Regions from separate parts of the Homo sapiens genome. Here regions 1 and 3 are each linked to region 2. Evidence: promoter capture Hi-C in human tissues and cell types (Jung and others, 2019). All regions are on one chromosome and are shown on one strand. The core of a region is centred on a gene start or on the middle of the fragment in contact, and the rest is flanking DNA. Distances in the headings are between cores, read along the strand shown. Region 1 has its middle 43 kb from the start of LINC03026. Region 2 holds the start of NXNL2 (nucleoredoxin like 2). Region 3 has its middle 120 kb from the start of SPATA31C2.

What was found. Contacts are between HindIII fragments. The study calls those that stand out against the background at their distance.
Region 1: a contact is called between a fragment that was not itself captured here and the fragment with the promoter of NXNL2 in region 2, in 2 of the 25 tissues and cell types used here (dorsolateral prefrontal cortex and spleen).
Region 3: a fragment that was not itself captured here is called in contact with the fragment with the promoter of NXNL2 in region 2 in 2 of the 25 tissues and cell types used here (liver and mesendoderm cells).

Annotation. Positions count from the first base shown.
Region 1 is chr9:88,032,633-88,036,748 of GRCh38, forward strand. No RefSeq gene overlaps it. Among named protein-coding and RNA genes, the nearest start is that of LINC03026, 43 kb to the right of the region's middle. The HindIII fragment of the contact is 4,152 bases long and covers 74-4,116 here.
Region 2 is chr9:88,532,767-88,537,004 of GRCh38, forward strand. It overlaps NXNL2 (nucleoredoxin like 2), which reads left to right and starts at 2,412. Exons shown (of 2, transcript NM_001161625.2): 1 at 2,412-2,970. The coding sequence starts at 2,669. It overlaps LOC105376134 (a long non-coding RNA gene), which reads right to left and starts at 1,774. Exons shown (of 2, transcript XR_007061653.1): 1 at 1,248-1,774. RefSeq lists enhancers at 2,198-3,032, 3,033-3,866. The HindIII fragment of the contact is 10,556 bases long and covers 1-4,238 here.
Region 3 is chr9:88,253,045-88,257,202 of GRCh38, forward strand. No RefSeq gene overlaps it. Among named protein-coding and RNA genes, the nearest start is that of SPATA31C2, 120 kb to the left of the region's middle. The HindIII fragment of the contact is 8,068 bases long and covers 1-4,158 here.

The DNA.
Region 1 (4,116 bases), core at 900-3,399, 500 kb before region 2:
ATTCTCCTGCCTCAGCCTCCCGAATAGCGGGGATTACAGGCACATGCCACCACGTCCGGCTAATTTTTGTATTTTTAGTAGAGACAGGGTTTCACTATCTTGGCCAGGCTAGTCTTGAACTCCTGACCTCGTGATCCACCCACCTCGGCCTCCCAGAGTGCTGGGATTACAGGCATGAGTCACCGCGCCCGGCCTGGGGTTCTGTATTGTATCTGGCAGCTCTGCCTCCAGGGGATTCTGATTCATGCTGAAATTTGGGAACCACCGGCATGGAGGCTTTGCCTAGGTCCAAAGCCCTGTTCTGACCATTTCAATGATGAAGAAAGTGTCTGATCCTCACATTCATTTCCCTGTTACCCTCTTTACCTCCCTGTTTCCCTGTTACCCTCTTACCTCCATCCTTCTTGTCTGATTTGCTCTGTTCACTCATTTACATTTCCTGTGCCTTTTCACATTCGTGACTTCTTAGTTCTGTCTGTGATTTTATAAAGATAACTCCCAAATAAAAATTGCATGGATCTACTGTTTATTGGTTGTAGCTAACTCAGCCAGAGGTTAGACTGTGCATATTTTGACACAGCAACTTGCCCAGGTTCATAAGTGCATTTATAAGACCCTTCTGCATCAGGTTTCCTGCCTGCATATGTACATATTAAGTAGCTCTAGTTACTGAGGACTATGAACTCAAAGGAAAGGAAAACTCCATGCTTAAAAATGGTTGAAGAACATGCTCTTGCATTGATTCTGGGTTGGACTCAGCTACATGGAACTGTTGATGTTTAAAGAACCTTAAATGTGGGAGGTAGAGGAAATGGTGTATTGTATTGTTTATGACAGGTAATAACGAACCACCAAGGTTAATTGGATGATTGACTGAGGTATTCGTTGGCCAAGGGCCTAAGAGCATTATGTAGTATTTTGCCAGCATGTTATACAGAGAAATGGAGATTAAGTATTCTCTATTCTTGGCTGGATATGGTGGCTCACGCCTATAATCCCAGCACTTTGGGAGGCTGAAGCAGGTAGATTGAGCTGAGGAGTTTGAGACCAGCTTGGTCAACATGGTGAAATGTCGTCTCTACAAAAAATACAAAAATTAGCCAGGCATGGTGGTGCACTTCTGTAGTCCCAGCTACTCAGGAGGCTAAGGTGGGAGGATGGCTTGAACCCAGGAGGTTGAGGCTGCAGTGAGCCGAGATCACACCACTGCACTTCAGCTGGGCGACAGAGTGAGACCCTGTCTCAAAAAAAAAAAATTTTTTTTCAAGTATTCTCTATTCTTGTTAATGGCACATTTAATTACAAACAGAAAACCTCAGCCCCTAATGTCTGATGAAGGCTTTTTATTTTTACTTTTTATTTTTATAAGCTCTGTTAGACTTGAGAAAGCTTTTTAAATTTTCTTTTTTTTAAGCAGAATCTGATCAAATATTCAATATAACAGGAAACAGTGCATTTTATGCTTAAGGAGAAGAAAATGTAGCACATCATGATTTAGGTTTTTAATACATTTCTATTTTGCAGATTGGGATTGAGACAGTTATGTTTGGTTTGGACAGTGACCCCAGTGTGATGATTGTCTGTGTGGCCTTAATGTTGATCAGGGTTGTTCTCATGAAAGATCACTTCAAGATCCATACAACCAAGATTTCAGGACTGTTGGCAAAATAGGGGAAAGTAAGTCACTATGGTGACGCAGACACTCAAAAACATCTGCATCGGGAAACTACTTCATTTGGGTTTATAACGACCCCCTTTTTTTTTTTTTGAAATGGAGTTTTGCTCTTTCACCCAGGCTGGAGTGCAGTGGTGCGATCTCAGCTCACTGTAACTTCCTCCTCCCAGGTTCAAGCAATTCTCCTGCCTCAGCCTCCCAAGTTTATAGGCTCCGGCTAATTTTTGTATATATATATATATTTTTTGAGACGGAGTCTCGCTCTGTCACCCAGGCTGGAGTGCAGTGGCGCCATCTTGGCTCACTGCAAGCTCTGTCTCCCAGGTTCACGCCATTCTCCTGCCTCAGCCTCCTGAGTAGCTGGGACTACAGGCACCCGCCACCATGCCCAGCTAAATTTTTGTATTTTTAGTAGAGACATGGTTTCACCATGTTAGCCAGGATGGTCTCGATTTCCTGACCTTGTGATCTGCCCGCCTAGGCCTCCCAAAGTGCTGGGATTACAGACATGAGCCACATCGCCCGGCTGCCTAATTTTTGTATTTTTAGTAGAGACAGGGTTTCACCATGTCGGCCAGACTGGTCTCGAACTCCTGACTTCAGGTGATCCACCCACCTTGGCCTCTGAAAGTGCTGGGATTATAGGCGTGAGCCACCACAGCAGGCTATAATGACCACTTTTTACATAGTAGTCAATATAATGCATTTGATGCATATTGATTTTTATCTTGTAGAAACAGCAGTTAGACAAAAACATGGACAAATCCAATATAGTTGCAGAATAGAATGCAAGTGGGCAAGTCTCAGTGCTGTCAAAATTGGAGTGCTGCTGGCCAGAGCTAGGAGGGGCCGCTGCGCTGGCGACCGAGCAGCAGGTGCTGATGCTCTCACATAGTCCAAGGGCAAGTTCAGTTGACAAAACAAGAAATGGAGTTTTGAGATTATTATTTGAAAGTGTAAAGATAAGCAATAAAAGAATCAAAAGGAACTGAGGATTTATAGAATAGTAATAAAAGGGAAACTATAGGATTTTAAAGAAGAATCATAGAGTTAACCACCAGAAAAGTATTAACATGTGTTCCCAGCTTTGACAGAAAACTTTTTCTTTCTTTTTTTTTTTTTTTTGAGTTGGAGTTTCGCTCTTGTTGCCCAGGCTGGAGGGCAATGGCGTGATCTCGGCTCACTGCAACCTCTGCCTCCCAGGTTCAAGCGATTCCCCTGCCTCAGCCTCCCGAGTAGCTGGGATTACAGGCATGCGCCACGCCCAGCCAACTTTATATTTTTAGTAGAGATGGGATTTCTCCATGTTGGTCAGTCTGGTCTCGAACTTCCGACCTCAGGTGATCTGCCCACCTTGGCCTCCCAAAGTGTTGAGATTACAGGTGTGAGCCACTGTGCCCGGCCTAGGAAAGCTTTTCTTTACCAATAGATCTGAGTGGTGGGGAGGTGGAGAGGATGGCAATTTAATTGACAATAGAAAGAATAACAGCAGAAAAGTTCGCTTTCACTGTATTTAGGAGCACTCCAAAAGGAGTGGCTCCAGGAGCCGCCAGGGGTGAGAGTTCATACATCAGCATCGTAAAAATAGGGTGGTTAGGACTTTGGAGGGAAGTATGGAAGGTTTTCAGAGGGCTTGCTTACACAGGGTTTACTCTTGGTGTTAACAGGCACCTTGAGAGGGGATGTATGGCAGCTTCATGATCAGAAATCTCTGCCTTTAATCATATATGGGAAGCTCAAAAAAGGCCTCTAGGCTGAGTGCAGTGGCTCACCCCTGTAATCCCAGCACTTTGGGAGGCCGAGGCGGGCGGATCACTTGAGGTCAGGAGTTTGAGACCAATCTGGCCAACATGGTGAAACCCTGTCTCTACTAAAAATACAAAAATTAGCAAGGTGTGGTGGTGTGCACCTGTAATCCCAGCTACTTGGGAGGCTGAGGCAGGAGAATCGCTTGAATCCAGGAGGTGGAGGTTGCAGTGAGCTGAGATTGCACCACTGCACGCCAGCCTGGGTGATAGAGAGAGACTCCGTCTCGGAAAAAAACAAACAAACAAAAAAAGTATCTAGCTGTGTCTGCTGTATCTCAGATGTCTTCAGTCTAAAGCAGGGGTCTCCAACTCCCGGACCATGGACTGGAGCTCGTCTGTGGCCTATTAGGAACGGGGCCACACAGCAGGAGGTGAATGGTGGGTGGGTGAGCCAGCATTACCTGTCAGATCAGCAGCGGCACTAGATTCTCATAGGAGCACAAACCCTATCGTGAACTGCACATGTGAGGGATCTAGGTTGCTTGCTCCTTATGAGAATGTAACTAATGCCTGATGATCTGAGGTGGAGCAGTTTCATCCTGAAACCATCCCCCAACCCAACCCCGGGTTAAAAATTGTCTTCCACAAACCCGGTCCCTGGCGCCAAAAAGGTTGGGGACTGCTGGTCTAAAG
Region 2 (4,238 bases), core at 1,162-3,661:
CGCCAGTAATCCCAGCTACTCAGGAGGCTGAGGCGGGAGAATTGCTTGAACCCGGGAGGCGGAGGTTGCAGTGAGCCGAGATCACGCCATTGCACTCCAGCCTGGGCAACAAGAGCGAGACTCCATCTCAACCAACCAACCAAACCAAACCAAAATAAAACAAAACAAAAACCTGCGCCCCTCCTCATGGCTCTTCTTTTGGCATAGCACCTGCAAAATATCTTCCTTATTTATTGTTTGTGCCCGTTAGAACATAAGCTCCAGGCAGGCACAGGAGCAGGACTCAGGGGTCGGTGAACGTGACGGGAGTCCAAAGTCAGTGGGGGATCCATCTTGTCTTAGGAGAGCAAAGACCTTCTCTCTGTCCTCCCCAGTTCCATAGCTGGCTCTATGAAATTAACTGCCAACGGGCAGATGAACGGGGGGAACGGGAATACACATTTATTAATCTTTAATATCACCTGCATGGGGGCATTGCAGGAAACTAGGTGAAAACCCCCCAAACCAGTGAGCTTTGAGAGCTTCTAAAATTGGGGAACTGGAAGCTGGTGTAGGCCACTTAGGGGAGAGTAACTGATTTTTAGGAAAGATGCATAAGTCTTTATGAGTTTGTGACAAAGTTTGTCTAGGTGTGGTGTGGACTTCTGCTGTGATAAGAGTCCATCCTCCCGGGAGGGAATTTACGACAATCAGTTTCTTTTGGAGGTTCCGTCTTTAGACAGGTAAGGGGAGAACGTCTCTCTGCATTTGCTATTTTTCAAGTGCCTCTCGCTCAAAATAATCAATATACCAAAGCGGCATATTTTAGGATGGCATATTTTGGTTTCATTCACTGTCTTTAAGTTTTTGATATTTTGTTCATTATAAACTTTTTTTGCATTCATTTTGACTTTTTAAGATATTGTATTAAAACATTATTTACCTTGACTACTGAGTTTTTTTGTCGCGCCCTTAAATTTTGCCCCTATGCGAGTGCCTCGCTCGCTTGCCTCCTTCTAGCCCGGGTCTGGCAGGGAGTTGAAATTATTTTTCTCACTGCTGAATTCCCAGGGCCTACAACAGTGCTCGCCAAAAAATTAATACTCTTGGTTCTTCAAATAAAACATTCTGTAAGGACTGCTCCCAATTTCTTCCTGAACTTCACGAACCCTCCCAGCCAGGCCACAGGATGTCAGGGGCAAACACCCTGAACCAACGGAGCTCAGGTTCCCTACCACCCCGCCCAAGCCCGCTCCAAGCCCAATTACCCTTCCCCTTCCTCGTCGTCCCATCCTCCCTGATGCCTCTTCCAGGGTGCTGGGCCGCGCGGCAAGAGCTCCAAGGCAAGATTCAAATGCCCTGGGGAGACGGCTGCGGGACACCTGCGGCGGGGCCCGGCAGGGAGCGCGAGACTGGAAGAGAGGCCAGGAGGGAAGGAGAGCGACGCGGGGTTTTGGGGGAGGGGCTGCGTGGGGCGCTGAAGGGGAGCGCGAGGAGTGGGAGGAAGTGAAGGAGGAGGAAGAGCACGGTGTGGGGGAAGCGCAGGAGGCAATAGGTGGGGCGGGACGGAGGGCAGGGCGCTGCGTCGGGAGAAAGTGTAGAAGCGCTGGGGAGAGTGCCCACGACGGGAGAGCCCAGGGGCGCGAGGGCGCGGGAGTGTGGGCGGGGCGCAGTGGGGATGGGGGCGGGGGCGCGGGATGTGGTAGGGGGCGTAGTGGGGAGAGAGTGCAGGAGTGTGGGCAGGGCGCAGTGTGGGGAGGGTGCGGGAGTGTGAGCGGGGCGCAGTGGAGGGAGTGCAGGATGTGGGCTGGACAACCAGTGGGAGAGGGCGCGGGAGGTGGGCGGGGCGCAGTCGGGATGGGGGCGGGGGCGCGGGATGTCGGCGGGCCGCAGTGAGGGGGAGGGCGCGGGAGTGTGGGCGGGGCGCAGTGGGGGAGGGAGCGGGAGTGTGCGCGGGGCGCAGTGAGGGGAAACTGTGGAATGTGGGCGAGGCGCAGTTGGAGAAGAGTGCGGGGATGTGGGCGGGGCGCAGTGAGGGGAAACTGTGGAATGTGGGCGAGGCGCAGTTGGAGGAGAGTGCGGGGATGTGGGCGGGGTGCGGTGGGGGAGGGTGCGGAGATGTGGGCGGGGCGCAGTGGGTGGAGAGTGTAGGGATGTGGGCCCAGCGCAGTGGGGGACAGTGTGGGGATGCGGGCGAGGCGCAGTGGGGGCGGGGGCGGGGATGTGGGCGGGGCGCAGTGGGTGGAGAGTGCGGGATGTGGGCGGGGCGCAGTGGGTGGAGAGTGCGGAATGTGGGCGGGGCGCAGTTGGGGAGCTTGCGGGGAATGTGGGCGGGGCGCAGTGGTGGGAGGGCGCAGGAGTGTGGGCGGGGCGCAGTTGGGGGAGGGTGCAGAGACCTGAGGGCTTGAGGTTGCCTGGCTGGCCCCGCTCCCAGAGGCGGGTGCCGCGCTGTCGCCCAGGTATCTGGGGTCTCTGGTGTCTGAGTGTCTCATTGTCGGCGCGAACACAATTGCTCCAGCCACAGGCGAGGCCTGGCCAAGGTGTGGGCGCATCTGGGGCAGGTCTTGAGAGGTCCAGCGCCCGGTGGTGCGGACAGAGGCGGGGCACCGCGGCGCTCGCCGCCGCCTCCCCGCAGGTGATCATCCTCCTGCAGGTGTCCTCGGGTCTCAGGTGGCTGCGTGTCTGCGCCATGGTTGACATTCTGGGCGAGCGGCACCTGGTGACCTGTAAGGGCGCGACGGTGGAGGCCGAGGCGGCGCTGCAGAACAAGGTGGTGGCACTGTACTTCGCGGCGGCCCGGTGCGCGCCGAGCCGCGACTTCACGCCGCTGCTCTGCGACTTCTATACGGCGCTGGTGGCCGAGGCGCGGCGGCCCGCGCCCTTCGAAGTGGTCTTCGTGTCAGCCGACGGCAGCTCCCAGGAGATGCTGGACTTCATGCGCGAGCTGCATGGCGCCTGGCTGGCGCTGCCCTTCCACGACCCCTACCGGCAGTGAGTGGGGGTCCTGGGGGGGCGGGGGCCGCCCGGCACGTCTCCCCCATGTTCCCCCAGGCCTCCCCCTCTGCACTGGGGAGCTCTTTATGACGCCCCCCCCCAACACCTCCCCGTCTCTCGGTTCACGTCCGGACTCCGGTAAATCACACTCAGTCTCAGTTTCAACCTCTCTTGGAGACCAGGGAGGGTGCAGACCAGATTCGAAAACCCAGGGCATCGGCACCCCAAGGGGGCTCGTGGAGCATGGACGCGGGCGCGTTTCTGCCTGGGGTCTGGAGCTCCGGGAATCTGCATTGCGAAGGAGCTCCCAGTGGTGGTGATGCTGTGAGTTCGCGGGCTCGGCTCCGGGAACCGCCGGCCCAATCAGCCCTGGACTCCCGGCGCCGCTGCGTCATCCTCCCAGTTAGTGGGCAGGAAGCACAGGGACATGACCCGGTGTCTGGATGCGGGGATGAGGGATGACCCGCGAGGACATCAGCTCTGTGACAGGCACCCACAGTGCAGGCCGTGGTTGGTTTGCTGGGAGGGAGGGACGGGGGCTTCAAGGCTGGCAGGAACCCAGGTGCTGGCCACCTTTGCGGTTTCATTTTTACCGACACTGATGGAATTTCATCACTAGAGAAGCATAAAACTCATTACTATAAACTTTATTACTCTAACTGTTGCAAAGGAGGGGGTAGGGATTGGCAGAGAGGGGATTACAGGGATTGATTGTTCTGCTTTTGGGGTGGGTCTCCTGTGGTCTCCTATGGTGTAAGAGTCCAGACTTAGGTTTAAAGCAGGCCTCGTCAAGTATGTTGTCCTGGCCACCCCCTTCTAGGTACCAATGTGAATTTCTGGGTTTTGCTTTACAGCCTCACATTTCTGGAGATTATCATTAAGTTGTGGCATTACCCCCTAAACTGATTATCATGAGATGACATTCCTTCTGGAAAATGAAAACTGGAAGCTAACTTTGGAAAGTTTTGTAGATGAGTAATTAATGGGAAGAAATCTAATTATTCCCCCAAACATGATTTTTGGTGATTCCCAGTGAAAGAGGAGGCCCAGGCAGGGCACCGCCCAGCCTTCCAGGGGGGTAACCTGCTTCTGGGAGCCTCACTCACACCGGGACTCTGAAAGTTCTATTGATAATGAATCTCCAAGATGGGTGGTTCACTTTGCAAAAGGATTTCTTACAGAATCAGTTCAAGTGGTGCTTTTAAAAACAGGATTGGACTTGTTTAGTACTCAAGTTATTTGTAAGCTTTTGAAAGAACGCAGGT
Region 3 (4,158 bases), core at 134-2,633, 280 kb before region 2:
CTGTGAGTCAATTAAACTTATTTTCTTTATAAATTACTCAGTCTCAGGTAGTTCTTTATGGCAGTGTCAGAATGGACTAATACAAATATACATTGGATATGAAGGTGAGTCTGCTTCAAGAAAGAAAAGCATTTTATAATGAAATTATGAGACAATCTTGAAGGACATAATATTTGTTCTTAGATTTTATATTTTGAGTTCAACCAAACAAGCATTTGTTGACAAACTATTCTACACCAAGATATGAGTACAACCTACAGTAATTTATTGTCACACATAAATAAATAAGATATAGCATGGCAATTTCAACAACTGAGATAGGAATGAAGTGTTGTGGGAACTTGGCAGAAGCCAGGGAAAGGGGGAGAGCAGACAACTCTTAAATGCCTGTGGAAAGACCTAGGAAGGCCTACAAGTCAGCTCAGGCTACCATAACAAAGTACCACCCTGGGCAGCTTAAATAGAAACACACAGATGATTCCCAACTTATGATGGTTCAATTTACAATTTTTCTACTTTATGATGGTGAGAAAGCAATATGCACACCATCATTTTAAATAGGAATAATACAGGGTAGTCACAGGAGAATAGAACATTCCAGGCAGAAGTTTCACATGACTAGCAAAAAGAAACTGTTGAAATAGCTGCAGCAGCTATAGGCTGATAAGACTCTGAAAACCCAGGGTATAGACCAAGCTAGCTAAAACCTTCTGGACCCAACATGGTGCTGGATTTGACCTAGGTTTCACCTAGGACCTCATTATATGTTCATTAACATTCTAAATCATATACCCACCGGTGTTATGACGGTTCTGAGAATCCCCATATTTGGTGTACAAATGGGTGGCACCACAGTTCCAAGAAATCTCCACCTTTTTCCAGGAATCTTCATGGATATTCCACCCCTTGGTTACAGAAATTCATAAAGGCAGCAGTCCCAAACTCCCTTTTGCGTGACTCTCTTGAGTACACGTGCACTCCCTTTTCTTGAGTGTGTACTTTTCCCTTTACCATAAATCTCTACTTTCACTATTTTCTAACCCAGCCTTGAAGTCATTCTCCAAACAATGTTAAGAGCCTGGACATCAGCTGGGGTTCCTCATCTGGTCCCACCAGTGTTTGGGGACCTCCCCCAGCCCACTGGTATCAAATTCAGTAGAAATTGTACTTTGAGTACCCCTACAATCATTCTGTTTTTCACTTTCAATACAGTATTCAATAAATTACATGAGATATTCAACTATTACAAAACAAGCTTTGTGTTAGATAACTTTGCCCAATTGTAAGCTAATGGAAGTGTTCCGAGCATGTTTAAGGTAGGCTAGGCTAAGCTATGATGCTCAGTATGTTATTGTTTGAAACATATTTTTTTTTTTTTGAGATGGAGTCTCACTCTGTCACCCAGGCTGGAGTGCAGTGGCGTGATCTCAGCTCACTGCAACCTCCACCTCCCAGGTTCAAGCAATTCTCATGCCTCAGCCTCCCACATAGCTGGGATTACAGGTGCACACCACCGTGCCTGGCTAATTTCTTGCATTTTTAGTGGAGATGGGTTTCACCATGTTGGGCAGGCTGGTCTCAAACTCCTGACCTCAGGTGATCTGCCCACTTCGGCCTCCCAAAGTGCTGGGATTACAGGCGTGAGCCACCACACCCAGCCTGAAATACATTTTTAACTTATGGTCTTTTCAACTTGTAATGGGTTTTTCAGGACATAACGCATCAGAAGTTGGGGGACATCTGTATTCTTTCATAGTTCTGGAGGCTGGAAATCTGAAATCAAGGTTGTCAGGAGGATTAGTTTCTCCTGAAGCCTTGCTCCCTGGCTTGTAGACAGTTGTCTTCTCCCTGTGTCCTCACATGGTCATGCCTATGTTTCTGTGTCCTAATCTCCTCTTCTTACAAGGACACTAGTCGGATTGGATTAGGGTCCACTCATATGACCTCATTTCAACTTAATCGCCTCTTAAAAGACCCTGTCTCCAAATACAGTCATATTCTGATGTACTAGGGTTAGGGCTCCAACAGATGAATTTTGGGGAGGCACAGTTCAGTTCATAACAGAAGGGTACCTAGGGAAGATGACATTAAAACAAAGCATTGATGATGTTCACCATGTGCACATACCCAGACTGAGAGGGAACCCAAGTCCTGGCTGGGTCCTCAGCTTTGCAGAGTCAGAAATTCAATTTTGTAAATGCTCGGTCTCCCAGGAGAGTCTTGTGTGACTAAACTCACAGAGGCTGTGAGCTCACTGTACGCAGAAGCCCAGTTTGATCTTCTGTGATGAGAAATAGATTCCAAATAGGCAGAAATACTCGTGTTGGCTGGTGTGCCAATTTTCTCCCTGGAAGAAAGTGTCACGAGACACAATATTTCTCTTGGGGGAACGTCAAAAAAGAGATAATTTGAGCAGTGTTTTTCAAACTGCAGATCACAACCATTAATCGATCCAACTAAACAGAATTGATTTAGTAGGTTAACAACTACCTTTGCTAGTGGAATCTAATAGGATAGAATGAGACGTAGTGTAAAAAATATGGTCTCATCAAACATGCATCAAAGTGTTTTCAGCCAGTTACAGTGGCTCATGCCTATAATTCCAGCACTTTGAGAGGCCAAGGCAGGAGGATCACTTGAGGCCAGGAGTTTGAGATCAGCTGGGGCAACATGGTGAGACCCCATCTCTAAATTTTTAAAAATCATGAAGTGTTTTGTATGTTCCCATGTGTGTCTGTGTGTGCATGTGCATTGAAAGCAAGTCCCAATGTCAAATGTATTTCTTTCTTAGGAATGTGTTCAAAGATTAAAATTTGAGGCCATGCGTGGTGGTTCATGCCTGTAATCTCAGCACTTTGGGAGGCCAAGGCAGGCAGATCACTTGAGCCCAGGAGTTCAAGACCAGCCTGGGCAACGTGCCAAAATCCTGTCTCAAAAAAAAAGAAGAAGGAAAGAAAGATTAGCTGGGTGTGGAGTGGCACGTGCCTGTGGTCCCAGTTACTCAGGAGGCTGAGGTGGGAAGATTGCTTAAGCCTAGGAGGCAGAGGTTGCAGTGAGCCGAGATCATGCCACTGCACTCCAGCCTGGGTGGCAGCAATACCCTGTCTCAAAATAAAAGAAAATAAAAATGTGAAATGCCATACATTGGACAAACTTGAAAGCTAGATCTTTCCACCCTGATGCACTTGTCTCACTACAGGATTGGGTGTGTTCAATTGACCAGATATTTTGCCTTACTAAAATATCGCATGAGTAGAACTCTTAGTTGTAAAGGAAACACGCAAAAATAGTGTAAGGGAAAGGACCAAGTTACCATAAGTATGTGGAGGAACTAGACCAGCCACTGGGACCTGAGCAGAGAAACAGCCTCAGGCATGGTGGCGGGAGCCTGTAATCCAAGCTACTCAGGAGACTGCGGCAGGGGAATCGCTTGAATCCAAGAGGCAGAGGTTGCAGTGAGCTGAGATCGTGCCACTGCACTCCAGCCTGGATGACAGAGTGAGGCTGTAACTCAAAAAAAAAAAAAAGACGTGACTATTGAGCCTCCTAACAACCCTATAAAGGAGTTCCTATTTGGCTGGAAAGGAAAATACGGCACAAAGGAAGTAACACCTGCAGAAGGCCAAGAAGATTGTTCACATTACAGCTGACTTTCCCTTGACTCCAAGTCTGAATTCTCTCCATTGCACCCCAACGCCCTCCACTGTTAAACTAGATTCTGCCAGCTTGGCCAATCTCAAATCACCGTCACTTGAGTATGTATGATGTTTAATCTGGGAATGTTGTTGGGATTTAAAGCATTGGACAAATAGCAGGTTTATATTTGCTCAGAGCAGTGTGGGCTGCAAACCTGAGAAAACAAACACAGGAGGAAAGCCCACTGTCTGTGGGGGGCCTCTGGAGTTGACCTGGACATTCAGCTGTAACCAGAACTCTTCACTTAGCTCCTCCAACAAGGCAGAGTTCGTGGGGTGCCTATGGGTTCCCCAGAAATTGCCATGGATCTAACCTGATGGTTTCAAAACCTGTTAATGTCTTAGAACAGGTAGGTAGCTTCAGGTGCCACTTTCTCATTGTGCAGGTGTAGAAAGTGATCTCAGAAGGGCAGGGGCTTTCTCCAGATGTCCTCAGGACACTGTCCAGGAAAAAGTGCTCCAC